Linked DNA regions of Homo sapiens: region 2 is linked to region 1. Evidence: promoter capture Hi-C in 16 types of primary human blood cells and fetal thymus (Javierre and others, 2016). All regions are on one chromosome and are shown on one strand. Each heading gives the region's core, a stretch centred on a gene start or on the middle of the fragment in contact. The rest is flanking DNA. Distances are from core to core; before and after follow the strand shown.

What was found. Contacts are between HindIII fragments. The CHiCAGO score rates a contact against its expected background, and 5 or more counts as called.
Region 2: a contact is called between a fragment that was not itself captured here and the fragment with the promoter of SLFN5 in region 1, in 1 of 17 cell types (total CD4 T cells). The highest score is 5.2, in total CD4 T cells.

The regions. Positions count from the first base shown.
Region 1 is chr17:35,238,235-35,244,321 of GRCh38, reverse strand. It overlaps SLFN5 (schlafen family member 5), which reads right to left and starts at 1,250. Exons shown (of 5, transcript NM_144975.4): 1 at 1,179-1,250. It overlaps LOC105371932, which reads left to right and starts at 171. Exons shown (of 4, transcript XM_047437262.1): 1 at 171-211; 2 at 1,103-1,400; 3 at 1,497-1,696; 4 at 2,352-4,279. The coding sequence starts at 171. The coding sequence ends at 2,799. RefSeq lists enhancers at 207-835, 809-918, 1,439-1,498. The HindIII fragment of the contact is 6,062 bases long and covers 1-2,595 here.
Region 2 is chr17:35,414,475-35,420,561 of GRCh38, reverse strand. SLFN12 (schlafen family member 12) reads left to right here. Exons shown (of 4, transcript NM_018042.5): 3 at 181-288. Among named protein-coding and RNA genes, the nearest start is that of SLFN12, 15 kb to the left of the region's middle. RefSeq lists a silencer at 3,705-3,754. The HindIII fragment of the contact is 4,801 bases long and covers 1,125-5,925 here.

The sequences.
Region 1 (6,087 bases), core at 1-2,500:
GACAAAGGATCCCCTTCTGGTGCAACCGAGCCCCTCAAGATTTCAGCACCCCAACATTTTTAGTGATGAAACCATGAAAATTCCGATGAGGCCCTTGCTTATTTGCATATGTTAACTACCCACTTTTTGCCCAATATTCCTTTTTCTAGCAATATAATTATAAACTGCTGATGCACCGTTTCTTTGTCAAGCAGGAGGATATAGCTTCAGAGTCAAGAAAAAAATTTTGCAGAAGGAATGAATGCCTTTAAGGGCATTGTGACCAGCTGCTGACGCCCAGAAGTCTGGTGGTTCAAGATGTAATCTGAGACGAAGAAAGACTTTTCCCCGAGGTTCCCTGAAATTCCCCCTCCCTTACTTCCTGGTCTCATAAAAACTCCCCACTACTTCTTTTTGTTAGGGTGGATTTGAGAGATCTTGACCTCTTGCCTTCTCGCTTTGGCCAAATGGAATAAATCTTCCTCTGTCTCCAAGCATCTGTGTGTCAGTGTTTGGCATCAACAGCACATCAGGTTCCTGAGCCTGAATTTGGGCTTCGACAACTCGGGCTCCCGGGACACATGCAAGAGGGAAACGGAATCACACCGCAGTCTCAGCCACTGCGGATATGACCAACTAGGGCTCTAGTTAGTCACTGTATGGGGGATACAGGGCTTTGTGGGCTACCCTAGTAGCCTGCCCCTGTTGTTACAGTTTGAAGACTGACGTTCCAAGCCAGGGGCTTATAGGCAAGCCTCTGGAACAAAGCCTCTTGTAATAGACTGGACATTGGCCCTATTTGTCCCCAGGCCACAACCCATTTAACTTCATCCTCGGGAGCCCCGATTTCGTCGTTTTCCCTTAAGTCCTTCGTGCTCCTGAACCGTGGGGAAATGTTGCCAGGTTTGGTTTGCTAAGATGTAGGCTGCGCTGGGTCGGCGCCTCTCCCTCCTCCCCAGCTCGCCCCGCGTTCCGAACCTCCCAGCTCCCGGGTCCTCTGCCACTAGCTGTCGTTGGAGGTGCTCCTGAGTCAACAAACTAAATCTCCCCAGCGGGAAAGACTCTCTCCCGGCAGCGCCCAGACCTGGGGAGCTGCAGTCGCCGCACCTTGTCTTCACCACAGCCCAATAGGAGAACCCGCGCAGACCGGGGGGAGGTTTGGGGAAGGCCTGGGCAAAGAAGCGCGGGGGATTCATTACCCGCTGGGTTCTCCTCGGCAGCGCGTCTCCCTCCGGGAGCAGGCAACGGAGCCTCCCAAGTCCAGAGCAGAGAACCTGACCCGGCGGGATCCCGGGCTTATATCAGCTGAGTTCCGTGACACCTCCCGGGGCGGGACATCGCGCAGGAGACAGACAGAGGTACAGCCCAATCGCATCGTTACGTGGAGCCGGAAGCCCACTCTTGCAACTACAACAGTCTTGGTAAACCTTGGGTGGACTGGGGAGAACTGAGGAGGGGAAGCGCTTTTTTGTTGCTTCTCTGTGTTTTCTATTTTATTTTATTTATTTTATTTTTAGATTTTCAGTTCTTATTTCACCCAGGGAAGGAGACCTGGGTATCCACCCCATGTCCTCCAGAGAACTTCCCTGGCCCCGCTCGGAGTCTTCCTGGGACGCCACAGGCTCGGAGAGCGCTCCGCAGGTTTCTCCCCCGGCGCCTCCAAATCTTTCGATTCCTACTCGAATTACTCCGTCAGCTGCTGGAAGAGGGGCAAGGGGTATGGCGAGACGCGTTGGTACATGGGGCACTGGGGGGAAGGGAAAGCCTCCCTCCTTCTCCTAGTAATTCGAGAATGTTGCGTCCGCCTCCTTTCTTTTGCTGGCGCTAGGGGCTCGGACCAGCACCTGCCAGGCATAGGTGTGGCCACTGGGGCGAAACCTGGCAGGCTCTGGAAACAGCGTTTTACTGACAGGAAAGAGAAACTGTTCTTTGTATTCATCACCCACCGCAGACTTCCTCACGCCCGGGTCTTAGGCGGGGCTGTCAGATTTCAGTGTGTTTCTCTTAATTCTAGTACTAAATTTGTACTGGGCGCTGGCGAAGGGCCTGGCTCCGCCACGCGCGGCCCTCTCGAACTGCCCGTGGGTACGGCGCGCGCTGCTGCCCTGTGTGGCCTGTGCGGGGAACCCGAGGGCCGAAGTGGGCCCCGCCGCAGCACAGGGGGACAAGAGAACCAGGAGCGGGCTGCCTGGGGGCAGATTCGAACCCGTGCTCCCAGCGGATAGAAGTAGCACTTGGGGACTCCTAAAATATTCAGCCCAATCCTGATTCCAGCTGCCCTCTCTAGGCACCTTTCCTCTACCCTTCTTCCAGTTTACAATTCTGGTGAGTAGATGTTTCTCTATCTCTTCTCTTCCAACTCCTGCGCCCAGAGCCAGGAGGACTTCTGGAGCCCGCCCAGCAAGACCCTCTCTCTCCCATCTTCTGCTCAAGGGCTCGAGGTCTCAGTGGACAGAGCTGAAGAAAAGCCGTCTATGGAGCCTGCGCCAGGCGCAGACTGGGTCGTCGCAGTCTGGGTCGTCGCAGTCTGGGCCGGGGCGCTGGAAGTCTTACTCACTTCTCAAGAACCCGCAAGGGATCAGGCCTGACCCTTTGCAAGTGACAGAATCCAAAGCTTTGAGCTCATGGGAAAGTGGCTGGAAAGAAGGTCACTGTAGGGCCGCACAGGTCTCTGGCGAGGCTACCCAAGAACATTTAAATCCCTGCCCAGAGAAGAAGAGGCTCCAGCTGTCCTGCACCTTCCTGGGAACTGGCAGTCCCTCCGCGCAGGGGTTCTGCAGCGACCGGCAGCGCGAGGAGACAAGGATGGTGGCCAGTTAACAGAAAATCAAGGCAGCGGGAAAGGTCTGGAAAACACCACCTACTATCACCTCTGGAGCCTGGGATTATGGGATAAGTTTTCGATTTTTAAATGTATTGTCAAATAGCTAAAGTACACGGAAAGTGCGAAATAATAGTAAATTGAACACCTGTGTATTCACCACACAGCTTAAGCAATAACATTAGCAATATTTGGGTACCCAGCTGGTCTCATTCCCTCATTCCACTTGTCCCCTACTCACCTGATAGCCAGTACAATTTTATGAATTTAAAGTTACTAATTCCCATGCAACTGTTTATACTTTTAGTAAATGTGTTTATGTCCCTCATCAACACATGACACTGATTCAACACATGTATATGCGTTTAAGCTGCATGTAAATGGCATCATGTTGGCCAGGTGCAGTTACTCACGACTGTAATTCCAGCACTTTGGAAGGCTGAGAGGGAAGACGGCTTGAGGCCCAGAGTTTGAGACCAGCCTGGGCAACATAGCAAGACCCTATCTCTAAAAAAAAAAAATTGTTTGTTTGTTTGTTTGTTTGTTTGAGACGGAGTCTTGCTGTGTCACTCAGGCTGGAGTGCAGTGGCGCAATCTCGGCTTGCTGCAATGTCGGCCTCCGGGGTTCAAGCAATTCTCCTGCCTTGGCCTCCCAAGTAGCTGGGACTACAGGCACATCCCACCACGCCCAGCTGATTTTTGTATTTTTAGTAGAGACAAGGTTTCACCATATTGGCCATGCTGGTCTACGAACTCTTGACCTCATGATCTGCCTGCCTCGGCTTTCCAAAGTGCTGGAATTACAGGTGTGAGCCCCCGCGCCCAGCCAAAAAAATTGTTTTAAATTAGCTGGGTGTGGTGGTGCCTGCCTATGAAGTCCCAGCTACTCAGGAGGCTGAAGTGGGAAGATGGCTTGAGCCCAGGAGTTGAAGGATGCTATGAGCTCTGATTGTGCCACTGCACCCCTGCATGGGCAATAGAGTGAGACCCTGTCTCTTTAAAAAAAAAAAAAAAAGTATCATATTGTATGTGTTCTGTAGAACTTGCTCCCACACTTTAACATTTTGCTTTAAAGATTTGTTCATGTACTTAGATCATTCCTTTTCACTGCTTTATGAGCTGAATCATTTCTGCTCTTCTTTCCATCCATACCCATTGGTCTCCAAAGTATCCAGGCCTCCCCAAAAGTTCCTGCAGGAGACCTCAGTTCCACTGGCTTTCAGGTCATTATTGTTCCAGCACTACTTCTCCATTTCTGGTTCCAGCCCTTCTCTCCCACATTCTCAAGCTTCTAGAGGGTCATAAGAGAGGAAAAACGCCAAATGCCTTTGATAAAATGTTGCCTTTCCAGTGGTATGCATGTTTGTGTGGAGTGGGAGGGAAGTGAGGGCAGATGTGACTTACTCTCAGCATTAATTCAAGTTTAAAAGTAAAATCTTTAGGTTTGCCTTGTCCAGTAAAAAATGCCAAGAGCCATAACTGCTCATTCTCTCTCTCTCTCTCTCTTCTCTCTCTCTCCTCTCTCTCTCTCTCTCATACACACACTTGGTTAATGCAATATTTACGTTGTTTTTGCTTCAACAAACTAAAGAGGAGAAGAGAGTTGGTAGGTTAAAGGGGCAGGTTATTCTTTTTTTTTTTTTTTTTTTTGAGGCAGAATCTCGCTTTGTCACCCAGGCTGGAGAGCAGTGGCTCGATCTTGGCTCGCTGCAAGCTCTACCTCCCAGGTTCATGCCATTCTCCTGCCTCAGCCTCCTGAGTAGCTGGGACTACAGGTGCCCGCCACCACACCCAGCTATTTTTTTTTTTTTTGTATTTTTAGTAGAGACGGGGTTTCACTGTGTTAGCCAGGATGGTCTCAGTCTCCTGACCTCATGTTCCGCCCGCCTCGGCCTCCCAAAGTGCTGGGATTACAGGCGTGAGCCACTGTGCCCGGCCAAAGGGGCATGTTATCTTATTAAGGGCAGGCAGTCTCTCACAGAAAGAATCACTGTATTAGTGTAGGGAGAATCACTGCCTAGGTCAGCCGTGTGTCAATGACCTGTGTCACTGTCCTCAGTCTGCACAGTGAGACTGGAGGCTGCATGCCATGGTCTACAGATCCCTCACTACAGAAAATTTGCTTCAGCATTCTCCGTGAGAGTCACAGGGAGATTGATTATGGGGGTCAATGCTCAATGGCATCATGGCTGGCCAAGCTTTTTGCAGAAACTTTTACTAGGGGACTGAGGATTATAGCAGCAAGCATCTTAGCATAGAGCCTTATCTGTGTTTCCACAGACTATCTTTCAAACCCAAGCTACTTGTTTATAATATTCACTTTTCAGGCAAAAACATATTTTCCACTTTTTTTCTTTTCTTGATAAAAAGTTTAAAAAACAAAATTTGCATAAACACGTATATGATGTTTCTTAGGAACAATGTTTGCCATTTGACAAAGTGTGGTGAAATTTTGTCAGAACAAGTTTACTTGAAGGAGGGATGAGACATCCTTTATCAATGTTCATATGAATCACACACATCAGAGAGAGTGGGAGGGAGAATCTTGGTTCTCTGGCACTCCCAGTACCCACATTGAGATCCGAGAGTGTCCTGATGATTTTCCTGTCTCAGTAAGTAATTAAGCTTTTCCTGAAGGAGCTCAGTTAAGTCCAAGCTTAATTTCAGTCAAGTCCAATGTTTAAGTTGCTTTTTCAGCTACATGAAATGAAAGTGTGACTCAGAATTTTCTCTCTATATCCCCTCAGATCTTTAGCACACTGAGGGTAATTACAGAGTCTCAAAGCATATCCCCACAAGATGCTCTATTTATTACAAAGGAAAAAGACACTAATTTTCCAGAGAATCCTGGAATATATCACCTCAACCAAGTGATCAAAGTTAACATCATTAGTAACAGGACAAATTAAATTGCATGCCACTAAAAGAACAATTTTTATTTCTTATGTATTCCTGACCCAATAAAACAAAACAAAACAGCACAATAGAAAGTAACTATAAGGAAACATTAGAGGGTTCAATGGTGCCCACCTGTAGTCCAAGCTACTTGGGAGTTTGAGGCAGGAGGATTGCTTGAGGCCAGGAGTTCAAGACCAGCCTGGGCAATATAGCAAGACCCTGTCTCAAAGTAAAAAGAAAAGAAAACGTTAAACCCAAACCCAAATGGAAAGACTGTTCTAGATTGAAGAACATTAAAAAGACAAGACAAAGTCACCATGTAATCCTAGGCTGTAGCTCGGACTAGAAAAAAAATTCTTTTTGCTGTAAAGGACACTCTGGCAATTGTG
Region 2 (6,087 bases), core at 2,276-4,775, 170 kb before region 1:
CATCAAAAGTTAATTTTGCAATTTGTATCTGACCTAAGAATCTAACCACAATATCTAACATTAATTTTTTTTTGGAAAACAGAATCAGTTACAAGTAGACTTTTAATATATAATACTATGCATTAGTTAGTTGGGGTCTCCCTTCTGCGAAATTAAGAATGTGATATTTTTGTTTTTAAGAATTTTCCAGTTCATATGAAGAGGTGATCTCTCAAATAAATACGTCATTACCTGCTCCCCACAGTTGGCCTCTTTTGGAATGGCAACGGCAGAGACATCACTGTCCAGGTAATTTCATTCTGGCTTCTTCGGATTTGTTAGTGTGACTGTAGTCAAACCTCTTTCTCTTCAAACCAGCTCAGTCTTGAAATTTGCTCTGAAAGCACATTCTTGTGTTTATGAGAATTCTTTGGTGTTTTAAGTCATTGAATCTGTCAAATCCTATTTCTTTATATTTGGGTTAGAATTTTCTTGGTGCAATACAAACTCGTTTACTTGAAAGTAAGAGCAACCCAAGTCAGTTTAGTTTAAACAAACAAAAAAAGAAAGCATATATATCATGTCACTGAGCAGTCTAGATTGAGGCCCACCTTCAGGCATAGCTATGTTCAGTTACTGAAGAAACGCCATCAGTACTCAGGATCTCTGATTGATCTATCTGTTTTTGTTGTTGTTGTTGATGATGGGCAATTGAGTTATTTCCTGCTTTCTGTGACATGAACAGTGTTACCTTGAACATTCTTAGTCGGTCTTCTAGTGCATATGTGCAAGATTTTCTCCTGGGTGCCTAAGTAGGAGTAGAATTGTTGGCTCAGGAGGTGTGTGAATATTCAAGTAATAAGATAATGCCAAATTGTTTTGAAAGTAGATAGGTCATGTTACTCCCATCAGCAATATATTAGAAATGCCACATCTTCTCCAGTTGTCAAATTTTTCTTATTTATGGTTGTCCTTCTCTTGACCTCCTTCTTCTCAATCAAATGTGTATAAAATGGTATGTCTTTGTGATGTGCATTTCCCTGGTTATTGATTGGGTTGAGCATCTCTCCATATACTTACTGGCCATATATATTTCATCTTCTGTGCAGTGTCTATTTTGTCTTTGACCATTTTTCTAATAAGCTTTGTCTTTTTCTTATTGATTTATAGGAGTAATTTAGAGATTCTAGAATAAAATCCTCTTTTAGTCATAGGTATTAACGACTACCAAATGTTTTCTCCAAGCTGGTGGCTTGCATTTTCTCTTTTCTTAAGGTATACTCTCATAAGTAGTAGTTTTAAATTTTAATGTAGGCAAAACTATCATTTAAAATGTTGCGGTTTAGTGCTCTTTGTGCCTTGCATAAGAGATCCTTCTATACACTAGGATTATAAAGATATTTCTTTTAATTTTCTCCTAAAAATTTTAAAGTTTTGCACTCAACATTTAACATGTAAATACACAATCCAGAGGTGGGCGGATCACTTGAGGCCAAGAGAACAGCCTGGCCAACATGGTGAAGCCGTGTCTCTACTAAAATACAAAAATTAGCCAGGTGTGGTGGTGCACACCTGCAGACCCAGCTACTCAGGAGACTGAGGCACAAGAATCATTTGAATCCAGGAGGCGGAGCTTGCAGTGGGCTGAGATCACACCACTGTACTCCAGCCCAGGCAACAGCGTGAGACCTTGTCTCAGTAAGTAACAAACAAACAAACAAACAAATAAATAAATACACAATCCATCTCAATAGACAGTAATGTAGCATGCTATTTCATTTTATTCCATGTGGATAACAACTTTCCCAGCCGCAATACTGAAAAGTCTCACTTTCACCATGATCTGCCATGCCACCTTCATCATATTACTAAGTACAATTCACCTTTGAACAAAAGGTGCAGTCGAAAATCGGTGTATAACTTTTGACTTTCCAAAAAGTTAACTACTAATAGCTTACTTTTGACCCAAAGCCTTACCAATAACGTAGTCAATTAACACATATTTTGTGTGTATCATATACTATATTCTTACAATAAGTATCATATACTATATTCTTACAATAAAGTAAGCTAGAGAAAAGAAAATGTTATTGAGAAAGTCATAAGGAAGAGGAAATATATTTTCTATAAATTAGGTGTAAATGGATCATTTAGAGGTCTTCGTACTCATTGCCTTCACGTTGTGTAGGCTGAGGAAGAGAAGGGTTGGTCTTGCTATCTTGGGGTGGCAGAGGTGGAAGAAGATCTTGGCGTAAGTGGACCCATGCAATTCAAACCCATGTTGTTCAAGGGTCAACTGTATATCTATAGATAATCCTCTTTCTAGAATCTCTATTATGTTTCCTTGATCAAATTGTCTGTCCCTGCCACTGTAATGTTATACTAAGTATCGATATCTGGTAGGGTAAGCCCTTTAGTTTTTCTTTGAGAGTGTCTAGGCAATTTTTAATCATTTAATCTTCTATACACACTTTAGAATCTGCTTAAATGCCAAAAAAACTTTTGGGATTTTGATTTGCAGTTACAGTGCATCTCTAGATAGATTTGGGAAGACATGGCATATTTATATCAGTAAGTTGTATCCTTGAGTATAGGAAATCTTTTTACTTATTTATATCTTCTTTAATGCCTTTATAGTTTCATAAATTTCTGTGTACACATTTTGTACATCTTTTATTACACTTATGTCTAGGTTCCTTTTATTTTTGTTGTTGTAAAGATATTTTTTTTAAAAGTTCCATTTTCTTGTTTATTGCTAATGTGTAGAAATGCAGTTGATTTTTACATACTGAGTTTATATAAGGCCACATTGTTAGGTTTCCTTATTATTTTAAATAATCTGTCCATAGATTATTTACATTTTGTATAAACAAATATGCAGATCATAAAATGTTTTGTCTTTTCCTTTCCAATCTTTCTGCCTTTAATGTCTTTTTTTCTTGTCCTAATGAACTGAAGAAAACTTTTAGACAATTCTTAATGCAAATAGTCTTAGTTCAGATTTTAAAGAGAGTGTGTCTATGGCTTTCCCATTTAAATTGAGGTTTGCCCAACATGGCACATGTATACCTATGTAACAAACCTGTGCATTGTGCACATGTACCCCAGAACTTAAAGTATAATAATAAAAAAAAGAAATTGAGGTTTGCCTTAGGTACTTTGAATATACCATTATCAGGCTAAGGAAGTTTAATGATATTTCTAGTTTACTAAATGTTTTTTCTTTTTTTATCATGGATGAATACTGAATTTTATCAAACACATTTTCTACTCCTGTTGACATGATTAAATGTTTTTAATATGTTGATTGGCAAATGATGTTTAATATTTTCTATTAAGCCTTTTTTGCATTCCTGGAACAAACTCAGTTCGGTCTTGCAGTATTATCTTTTTTATGCATTTTTATTCAGCTGCTAATACTTAATTTAGAATTTCTGTATCTAAATCCATGAGTGACAAGGTCTAAGAATAGTTTTCTCTCTTTCTTTGTCTAGTATTTGTATTAAAATTGTGCTGAACTCAGAATGAGTTGGGGATTATTTCCTCTTTTCCTATCCTTTGAAAAAATTTATATAAGATTAGAATGATATGCTTGAAATTGTGGTGGAATTTGCCTGTAAAATGGTTTGTCTTCCTTTTGTGGGAAGACTGTTAGTTCTTTTTTCAATCAGGAACTGGCTCTGTCACCCAGGCTGAAGTGTAGCGGTGTGATCATGGCTCACTGCAGCTTCAAGCTCTTGGGCTCAAGTGATCCAACTGCCTCAGCCTATCAGGGCTCTAGGATTACAGGCTTGAGCCACTGTGCCTGACATATTTCTGGTTTTTTAATAAAAGGGTTGCCTACTCTTTCTGTTTCCTTCGGTGTTAATTTTGGTAAGATATTTTTAAGGAATCCTAAATTCAATAGCTGGCATCTCAGTATTAGTCTGACTTATATTTCAGATCCTTATTTCAGGCTATTTTTATTTTCTTGTGAGAACAAAGCAGATTGGTTTCAAAAATTTATTTACTTTGTGTAGTAAGTACTTTTAAAATGTATGCTTTTTCTAGGTATCTTATATGTTAATTTTTAAAATTTTTATTTCACTAGTTTTTGGGGAACAAGTGGTTTATGGTTACATGAATAAGTTCTTTAGTGGTGACTTCTGAGATTTTGGTGCAGCTATCACCTGAGCAATGTACACTGTACCCAGTGTGTAGTCTTCTATCCCTCATTCCCCTTCCACCCTTCCCCTTGAGTCCCCAAAGTCCTTTGTATCATTCTTAGTCTTTGTGTCCTCATGGCCTAGCTCCCACTTATGAGTGAGAACATACAATATTTGGTTTTCCATTCCTGAGTTACTTCAGTTAGAATAATGGTTCCCACCCCATTCAGGTTGCTGTGAATGCCATTATTTCATTCCTTTTTATGACTGATAGCATTCCATGGTGTATATATACCACATTTTCTTTATCCACTTGATGGCTGATGGGCATTTAGGCTGGTTCCATATTTTTGGAATTGCAAATTGTACTGCTATAAATGTGTGTGCAAACATCTTTCTCATGTAATGACTTATTTTCCTCTCAGTAGATACCCAGTAGTGGGATTGCTGGAGCAAATGGTAGTTCTACTTTTAATTCCCTAATGAATCTCCACACATTTTTCCACAGTGGTTGTAATAGTTTACATTCACACCAGCAGTATAAAAGAATTCCCTTTTCAGTGCATACTTGCCAACATCTATTATTTTTTGACTTTTAATTATGGCCATTCTTGCAGGTGTAAGATGGTCTCATTGTGGACTTAATTTTCATTTCCATGATCATTAGTGATGTTGAGCATATTTTCATGTTCATTGGCCATTTGTATATCTTCTTTTGAGAATTGTCTATTTATATCCTTTGCCCACTTTTTGATGGGATTCTTTGTTTTTTTCTTGCTGATTTGTTTGAGTTCCTCATAGATTCTGGATATCAGTCATTTGTCAGATGCATAGGTTGCAAATATTTTCTCCCACTCTGTGGATTGTCTTTTTACTCTGCTATTTCTTTTGCTGTGCAGAAGCCTTTTAGTTTAGTTACTTCTCATCTATTTATTTTTGTTTTTGTTACATTTGCTTTTGGGTTCTTGGTTATGAACTCTTTGCCTAAGCCAACGTCTAGAATTGTTTTTCTGATGTTATCTTGTAGAATTTTTATGGTTTCAGGTCTTAGATTTAAGTCTTTGATTCCTGTTGGGTTGGTTTTTGTATAAGGTGAGAGATGAGGATCTGGTTTTATTCTTCTACATGTGGCTTGCCGATTATCCCAGCACCATTTGTTGCATGGGGTGTCCTTTCCCCACTTTGTTTTTGCTTGTTTTGTTGAAGATCCAATTGAACTGTAAGCATTAGACTTTCTTTCAGTGTTCTCTATTCTATTCCACTGGTCTACATGCCTATTTTTATATCAGAACCATGCTGTTTTGGTAACTATAGCTTTGTAGCATAATTTGAAGTCAGGTAATGTGATGCCTCCAGATTTGTTCTTTTTGCTTAGTCTTGCTTTTGCTATGTGGACTCTTTTTTGGTGCCATATAAATTTTAGGGTTATTTTTTCTAGTTCTGCGAAGAATGATGATGGTATTTTGATGGGAATTGCATTGATGTAGATTGCTTTTGTCAGTATGGTCATTTTCACAATATTGATTCTACCTATCCATGAACATGGGATGTGTTTCCATTTGTTTGTTTCATCTATGATTTCTTTCAGCAGTGTTTTGTGGTTTTCCTTGTAGAGATCTTTCACCTCCTTGTCTAGGTATATTGCTAAGTATTTTATTTTATTTTGCAGCTGTTGTCGGAGGGATTGAGGTTTTGATTTGATTCTCAGCTTGGTCACTCTTGCTGTATAGCAGTACTAATTTGTGTACATTGGTTTTGTATCCTGAAACTTAATGGAATTCATTTATCAAATCTAGAAGCTTTTTGGATGAGTCTTTAGGGTTTTCTAGGTATACAGTCATTTTTCTGTGAAAAATGACATGGGAATTTTGATAGGGTTTTCGTTGAATCTGTAGATCACTTTGGGTAGTGTGGACATTTTAAAAATATGATTTTTTCAATCCATGAACACAAGCTATCTTTC